Linked DNA regions of Homo sapiens: all the other regions are linked to region 3. Evidence: promoter capture Hi-C in 16 types of primary human blood cells and fetal thymus (Javierre and others, 2016). All regions are on one chromosome and are shown on one strand. The core of a region is centred on a gene start or on the middle of the fragment in contact, and the rest is flanking DNA. Distances in the headings are between cores, read along the strand shown.

Region 1 (2,811 bases), core at 286-2,785, 330 kb after region 3:
TGGAGTAAAACTATCATGGAAGAATGCAGAAGGCATTCAGAATACCTTATTGAATGCAGATTTGAGAAGATACCTACAATTAGCTATCAGCTCCAGTGCACCACCACATAGAAACCAATGGGATGGGAGAGGTTGAAGGTTTGTGTGAGAAGTGGGATTGCTAATAAAACAGATAAAGAGGGAGGAAGGTAGGATCCAGAGTAAAAGTGGGAAGATTAGTTTTGGATAAGAGAAAAGATATCTCTTCTAATGAGTTGGGTGGCAAAGAGTTAGGCTGGAATCAGTTCATAGGGAGGAAAGGACATTGAGTTAATTCTCACTTCACAGGCTATTTTACCTGTAAATTAGGACAGGAGGGCTTTGCTGAGAGTGAGGAAGTGGCAGTTTGTACATACTGTTGGATTGGAAGAAACAGTTAAAGCTTGAAAGAAAAGGAGATGTGGAAGGAAATTTGGACAGTGTTGAAGTCCTAGTGATGTTGAAGACCAGGGCTTTGTACCAGTACCATTCTGCAGAGTCACATGAAGTTAACCAGAATGTAGCAACCCAGGTGTATGAAAACAGACATAAAATAATTGCATTGATCTTGGGTTGAAATTCTGGAGGAAAATGTGGAGGGACGACAAGAATTCAAACGAGAAGTGGGTACTAACAGGAGGATGTTTGAAGTGATAGGCTATGATGTCTAGGTTAAAGAGAGAAGAAAGTAGAGCCAAAGGGAGCTTTTAGAAGTAAAGAAAGTGATACTTTTAGGGGATTTGAGATATGAATGAGGTTGTAGAACTGATGGAGTGGAAATACAAAGTCGGTAGAGTTGAAAAGTTGGTTGGCGCTGTTTAGAGAATAACTTCACAGAGTGAACAAGTATAGAGGTGGCCAAGTTTGGGGTCTCCATGATTGTGACTGGCTGAAGCAGAGTGGAGGTTCAAAAAGACTATTGTAGTGAATAATAGGGAGCTATAAAGCAGGTGCTGGTTGATAATCGAAAAGGGCATTGACGTCATCCAGGATCTTGGGTTGGATATTAAGACTTTAAGCCATGTACCAAAGCCTTTGTTAAATGTAGAAGGCTTCACTGGGACTCCAGCCATTCACAGGGAGAAATGATGTTTACAGCTAAACAGTGTGACTCTCAAAAGAGCCTTTTTTTGCAAGAGAGTGAATAAATAATATTTTTAATTTGGTAATAAGGAAAGCTAACCAGTGGGTCCTAAAATAGAATTAAAAAAAGAAGAGGAAGAGGAGAAGGGAGAAGAAGGGAAAGGAAAGAAGAACCTAAACTTTAAAAAACCTTGCTAGAAGAAGGGAGGGGCCCAAACGTAGCTCAAGGGGAGCGGGGATGTAGCTCTCTGACAAAATGAGAATGTACAGGAGGGTTCATTTGGTTTATTTGTATGTGTATTTGGTTGTTTGGCTTTGTTTAGATTTGTTATTAATAGTTTGTTTTGATTTTAACCATCCATATGGCATATTTGAAGAATACTTGTTCCAGATAATAGTTATGAGATGACATATTAAGGGACAATAATTGAAATGTCCTCAATGCCAGAAAAACAAATGTTCTCAATCACTTCCAGTTTTTTTTTTTGCATGAATAAAGTTACCATGAGTACATTTTCCAAAAAAGAAAAAGTTCAAATGTAAGATCTGAGTTGAATTGTGAGCTTCTCTAACGGTGTTCTTGGATTCATTTTTCAACTGCAAAAGATTGAGATCCTGAATAAGGCTTATGGGTGTATTAAAACTGTGCCCTTGCAGAGGAAGTAGCCTTGAATAGTTATTGGCTTTGAAAGCAACCAGTTTTGTTGACTTAATTATGCTGGTACCAGGAAAGCATAGAATAGATCCTGTTGATAACAAGAGCCATGCTGGACATTAACAGTTTCACAGAGAGTAGTGGGGACCATTTCTTTGGAATAAAGTTGAAACATGTTTCTTAATAGACAACTCTCTCAGCATTATAAAATCCTGATACAGAACTCAAGGAAAGACACACACGCACACACACACACACACATGATTTTTATCGTTGTTATCTTAGTAAATAATGACTAATGTGGTTTTTGGTTGTTATCAGTTGGTTACGGATTGGAGTTAACATTTCATCAGATCTGAGCAATAACCTATGTGGTAAAGTCCTAGTGTGGCAGGAATTTGGGATTCAAGGGGGGTGCTTATATAATCTGCTTTCTTAAGGTAAGGTTTGCTCTTTTATGCTACCTGTCATTTCTGCCTTAAACAATGTCCGGGAAATTCAGCCACACACAACAAAGAACCAGATCCCTCATTTCGGTTCTATCCTTCCTCCTCTAGAACTGACATTCCTTGGGGCCGTGTCCTCAAGTGACGTGTCCTGCTCTAGCTAAATGGCAGTAATCTGTGTTTGACTCCAGCAGTTTATCAAGCTATGTCATTTTATGCCATGTCAGTTTATAGAGAGTGGCACAAGATACAACAGGATAGGGAAGCTGAGTTTTCTATTTGTCTACTTCATTGAAAACATGATTTTGTTTACTGACAAGTAAATGGTATAGGTGTAAGGAAAGAGTAGCAACTACCATATTATTTTGCCAGAATCCTCATGTTACCGTTTCAAAAAATGCCAAGAAAGATGACAGTGCATGTTATAACATCCCTTACAAATAATAGCAAAGCTTTAATCAGCTGCTACACAGACACACTCAGGATTGAAATGCAACCTACTAGGGTGAAACATGACAAGCGGTTCATTGAACACTGCGCAGAAGGTAAATGAAGTGTATATTTTCCAATCACAACTGGAATTTTAAGTGAGTGAAATGGAATAAACTC
Region 2 (2,828 bases), core at 321-2,820, 350 kb after region 3:
GATGTTGAACCTAATGACTCTCAGATTAATATACAGTGCTACAGATTTTGCTTTATAGCCTACGTTTGAAACTCCATCTCAGGATTTTGCTTCTGAAATTCTTCCAAGATAAATTGCTGACCTTGCTAATGTTAGTTCCATAACCAGCTATGCCAATACAATTTACCTTTCTGGCATTGCACTGGCAGCATTGTGTTGTTAATGTTTTGTTTTCTCATATATAATAAAGTGTAATTAAGTAACTTGTAAAGAATTTGCCTATAAAAATGGCTGCAACTTAAAATATTCACTTAAAATATTCCATTGGGTAATCATAGAAATCGATTCTCTACTCTTAGTTTTGCATGAAAGTTCAGTCTTGCTGAAAATGTATGAATATACTTATATAACACATTTATATTTGTATAGAATTACTGCTACTGCAGAAGTATTTTAAAATAGTTTATTGTTATTGGTTCATTTAAGGGACTTTTCTATCCCCAAAATGAACTCTGGCTAAGTAAGTATACATGTGACTTAATATCAACATTTTCTTCATTCATATTACTTCTCTAATATATTACACTAAAGTATAAATAATTACAATGATGTGCCTAAATCTACTTAAAACCATTGGTCATCAGGGCATATTTATTAGAAGAATTTTCATCCCACATTTTAATAAAATGACCAAATAACTTTTACAATGCAATTATTGCCCTTTATCACCATGAGTAGTGAGTAAAGCCACTTTGCAATGATCTGTTTTGACAAAATAAATTTTCCAGAGAAAATCTGAGCAAATAATGGAACTTAAAACTAACCACTAAATCTATCCTCAGTCATAGAAAGTGCGATAATGTTGGGATGGTTGCCACAAATCATTTAAATTCAGAAAAAATAAACACACAACTAACCCCGTTTAGAGGTGTTCAGATGTTTCAAATGCCATTCAGCAAAGTCCTAAGCACATAGTTCAAAACTAAAGCCCTGACTCTTAACTTTGACCTCACTTGCTTTTACAACATCCTCTGCTCCTCAACCTTAAATTATAACCACTTTCTTCTTGCACATTTGTATCACTGGTTCTTGGCTGCTTAGGGCACTGAGAGTTGACCTAGGGTAGAGCAATGTTTTCCAGAGTTGGGATGGCATTGTTTGTAATGTTATGCTGCTCTCTGTGTTGTTTTTATTTGTTTCAAGGAGTAGGTGACCCAGAAAACTCTTCGTAAGACATCCTGCCTAGGAGACAATACTTATGAATTACAAAGTTATCTGTTAAGATATCTGATTAGATCTCAGAGAGTCAACAACTGAAGCAAGCTGATCTTTCAGAACACATACGGGCAATTAAAAAACAAACAAACAAAAAATGCCCAGAAACCACTGGCAGAAAATATGATTGACTACTTTTGTTTCTTCCTTATAATACCAACCTGGGAATGAGAATGACAAAAATAACAACAACAACAACAACAAAAAACTGAAATAATTACTTGTGGATGAAGCTTCTTTAATTTATCTAATTGTTTCATTAGCAGCAAGAATTAAGAGAACAACTTTAAAAACGAATATGGGGTTTGAGTTCACAATTCCTCCACTATGGCAGGTTTGCAGTGAAACATCAATATGACTAAATTTTCTCTAATGGTACCTTGTATCTGCATTTTGGTAACAAGCTTTTGGTTCCTTCTCTCACCCAGTCCTCCTCCCTGATAACCCCATGCCCTTCATTCCTTCTCTGAAGTCATCTATAATTGTAGGATGCACCTCTGTAGAGAATTTGAGAGAAGCTACATTGCTCAGCTCTTCAGCACCAGTGCCCTGTCGGGAGAGCCCTGGCTTGCAGTCAGTACTGGAGCTTAACAGTCGGGTCATCAGGTGGTTCCAGCCAGCCAAATGGGGATTATTATCCCAAGGCCAGGCTCAGGGGGGGTTTGGGAGTCCAGGAAGCATGTACAAATGGGAGAATAGAACACATTAATTTCAGGGCAGTCAGAAAACAGTGCTTCCCTAGGAAAGTGTGACTGTCCTCTTGAGTAGATGCATGTTGTAAATTTGATATTAGAAACATGTCAAATAAATGATTGAACATGAGGAATGAAATGAGAGAGGGACAAAAGCCCAGTCTATACAGACCCATGACTTTCTTTTCCCAGATCTTGTGCACTGGGAACAGAAACTTAAAATTAACCATTTGAACACTTTTTCTGCTCCCTCAAGAGGGCTTGTAGAGTGTATTCTGTTCACTTAGAAAAGCACTGTGTAAATAGCAGATATTATTCAGAGAGTCCTGTATCTATTCCTCTCCATGCATGGTCCTGGAAAAGACAGCTTTCATTTAAGGTTTGTTTTTGAGGTAGAAGCCTTGGTCACTGCTAAGGCACAGTGCATGCAATATCTCTTCTGAGGTTGCTCCTGGAAGATTTTTGCACCTGCCTCCCCTTACATCGTCCCTACCTGTTTCCATAGATTTCAATCGTTTTGTTAATGCTCACTACAGGAAGCACCTAAGAACAGAGTTGCTGTTCTGAGCAGATTCTATCTTGGGACATGATGGGTGGAGAACAGCCAAGAACATTGTAGCAAATAGGTGCCCAGTTGGGCTTTTCAATATTATGTATTTGACAGGGCACAGCAGCACCAGCATGCATTGGCATTGGAAAAATGCATTGCCCAGTTCTGTTTGAAAGCTCCTGTCATTTCAGAAGCACTTGAAAACGGGCATGCACTGAGTTTTGCTGCTGTGCTTGCCGGGGCTATTAATAGGAGCTCAGGACTTACACTTGTATTGCCCTTTTCACAAAAGAAAAAAATCCAAAAGTATTTCTTTTCCAAAACAGTACCAA
Region 3 (2,802 bases), core at 272-2,771:
TGTTCCTCTTACTAGCTATATAATGGACAATTAAATTATTCCTTTAAATTCCTTTCTCCTTTAGTACACAAGGATAAAATACTCATTTGATTGTTTTAAAGATTAAAGAAGTATCTGAAAGTAACTGTTATATTTTCTTCTGAGAGGTATCCCAATAAAAAGGCTACAATATTGTTATTATTATTACTATTCTAGTATCCTGGATGCAATTTACCTAAGCCTAGATATTTTAATTAATTTAAGTAGCCACATGCTTTCTCACTAGCTATTTTCCCAGCATGATCTCAATCTTTTCTACGCAAAGTTTAGTCTCTTCTCTCCTAAAGATTGTTCTACCTAGAGAAGAATATAGGTTCAGAAAGGAATTCATATACTGGTGTTTCTCTAATCTCTTAGAATTACTTAATTTTTCAAAGAGCTCTATCTTTTCCTATTTATCTTCTTGTTCCAAATAGAATTAAAATCATTTGCTGCCTTTAATATTGTTAAATATTTCATTTCATACTATGCTTCAATTTCTTGCTTTTTTCTTCTTTTTATCTTCCTCCTTCCTTCCTTTTTCTTTCTTTTCTTCTTTTTCAGTTATCATTGTTATGCTTGTCCTTTCTTGTGAGATTCCTCTGTTATCTTTCCTTATGTGCTTTTTAAACAAAACCTCGAGAGTGCCGTGGGACAGCCTCATTGGTATCTTTTCAAATTTGGTATCTCTCCACTTTTTCCTTACATAGTTAGCTGGCAGTAGTACATAATAACCTTTTCTGTCTCTCTCTCTTTCTTTCTTTCTTTCTTTCTTTCTTTCTTTCTTTCTTTCTTAGATTTTCATTCCTCTTGAGCTTTAAAAGACTGGCTAGCAATGTTATATCTTTCATTTTATTTTCTGATTTAAAAAAGTGTGTGTGTGTGTGTGTGTGTGTGTGTGTGTGTGTGTGTGTGTACGCGCGCGCGCGCGCGCGTGCACGTCAGTGTCTTCTTCATGGATGCTTGTCTTATTTTCTCCCAAGGTGTAACTGTCCAGGGAGGGAAAAGTCAAGTCGTCCTCTATTACACTGCTCTGCAGAAACAGACTCACTAAATGTCAAAAAGTAGATGCATCAGACTGTTCCTTAGAGAAAGGTTTGCCATGGAGTCGTATATTGTAACTGAGCTGAAGTTCACTCATCGATAAGTTGTGCCCAAGGAATCGAATTCCTTCCAGTCCTTCTAAGCAGTCCAGGGAAACCAATTTAAAAGCGAACACAACAAAACTAACAGACCGGCAAAATCTATCTTTGAAGCGCCGCGGGAGGCACAATTTGGGAACAGGTGAGGCCATGCTGGGTGGGTGAGGCCCCCCTCTCTCCTGCTTGGTGTTCCGCTTTCAGCCAACCCACCCCAGGAGTACCCTGGGATCTCCTCGCCCCCTGCCAGGCGGAGAACGCGGAGCCCAGCGGGCACGCGGGAATGGAGCTAGGCGCCGGCAGGGCAACTGGGCATGCTCAGAAGCCGGGCAGGTTTTGGTCTCAAGCACGCAGCCTGTGCATTACACCAGCTCTCTCAGTCCGGGGAGGAGGAGGAGCAGGAGGAACGCGAGGAGGAAGGAGAGGAGGAGCGGCCAGCAGTAGCCACGACCGCCACCACCAGGCAGAGGAAGAGTTCGTGGGGAGGAAAAGACCTCTCCTCCCCCTTGGAGCGCCTTCTCTCTGCTTTTGGAGAAAGGGAATACACGATAAAGAAGGAGACGGAAAGAAGAGAAAAAGTGAGGCGGGAGACAGAGGGAAAAGGGCGTGAACAGAAAGGGCCGGAGCGTGCAGGGGAGCACAGGGCGCGGGGGCGGCACTGCCGAGCCGGGAGCGCTGCCGCTTGGGCAGGTGCCGCGGCCGCTGCCCGGAGGCGGCATGTGACGCGCGGCCGCAGCTGCCCGCGGGCGGAGCGCTCTCAGACCCCGGAGCGCACACCGCGGGGCCATCGGTGCCATCGCGGATCTCCAGGCTCCTCATCAGTCCGCCGGGGCCGCAGCAGCGCTTCTGGGAAGACGGGCGATGAACTGAAGGGCGGCTCCGGGCAGGGGGGCACGATCTTAAGGACAGTCGCTCCCTGAACGCGGAGCCGGAGGAGACGAAGGGAAGGTGGAGCGGACGCCACCCGCGCACCGGGCAGGCGCGGAGACCGGCGTGGGACAGCCACCTGGAGCGCAGCTGCCAGGTAGGGACGGCGCCCGCCACCCAGGCGCTGGGCAGAGCGGGTGGCGGTAGCGGCTGACCTGGTTTCTTGCCTTATCTCGTTGCGAAAGGAGGAAAAAGTTTTCGGCGCGGGTAGGAGAGGTCTTGTGTTTGGAGTCCAAAGAAGGGGCTGGGTAGGGACGAGAGAGGCTGTTGATTTGGGGAAGATGGGGGCACTTGAATTCCGACAGCGCGATCTGGTGCGGAGTTGGAGTTCTGGGACTGAGGGTGGGGAACGCCCGCTGGCACTCAAGTGCCCCGAAAGGGACGGGAATCATGCGAGCGGTGGCCGGGAGAGAGTCGGGGACGTCCCACCCCGCTCTCCCTCGCTTCGATTCTCTCTTCGCCACTGCCGGATCTGAGGCTCCAAAGTGCCCGAGCATGAGGAGCTACTGGGCTCCGGGTGTGTTTGTGAGCGCACTCGTGTGTTGAGCGTTTGTCTCCCATCTCCCCATTTGGTTTCCTGTCATTTCTAAGAAGGCTAAAGCTGGCACCCGCCAACCTCGCAGTGGGGCCGCAAGTTCGGATTGCATTTCAGGGGGCGAGAAGGCAAATTTGGCACTTCGAGTAACACTTGGGCGAAGGTACCTAGCCTAGTGCGCAT

The links. The method cuts DNA at HindIII sites, captures the fragments that hold promoters and counts their contacts. A CHiCAGO score of 5 or more calls a contact.
Region 1: a contact is called between a fragment that was not itself captured here and the fragment with the promoter of CHRM3 in region 3, in 1 of 17 cell types (megakaryocytes). The highest score is 6.0, in megakaryocytes.
Region 2: a fragment that was not itself captured here is called in contact with the fragment with the promoter of CHRM3 in region 3 in 2 of 17 cell types (megakaryocytes and naive CD4 T cells); the score reaches 5.5 in megakaryocytes.

What each region holds. Positions count from the first base shown.
Region 1 is chr1:239,715,469-239,718,279 of GRCh38, forward strand. All of the region lies in intron 5 of CHRM3 (cholinergic receptor muscarinic 3), which reads left to right. All of the region lies in intron 1 of CHRM3-AS2 (CHRM3 antisense RNA 2), which reads right to left. Among named protein-coding and RNA genes, the nearest start is that of CHRM3-AS2, 2.2 kb to the right of the region's middle. The HindIII fragment of the contact is 2,233 bases long and covers 420-2,652 here.
Region 2 is chr1:239,736,562-239,739,389 of GRCh38, forward strand. The region is part of intron 5 of CHRM3 (cholinergic receptor muscarinic 3); the gene reads left to right. Among named protein-coding and RNA genes, the nearest start is that of CHRM3-AS2, 19 kb to the left of the region's middle. The HindIII fragment of the contact is 171 bases long and covers 1,486-1,656 here.
Region 3 is chr1:239,385,047-239,387,848 of GRCh38, forward strand. CHRM3 (cholinergic receptor muscarinic 3) reads left to right here and starts at 1,522. Exons shown (of 7, transcript NM_001375978.1): 1 at 1,522-2,181. RefSeq lists enhancers at 2,244-2,744, 2,745-2,802. The HindIII fragment of the contact is 9,736 bases long and covers 1-2,802 here.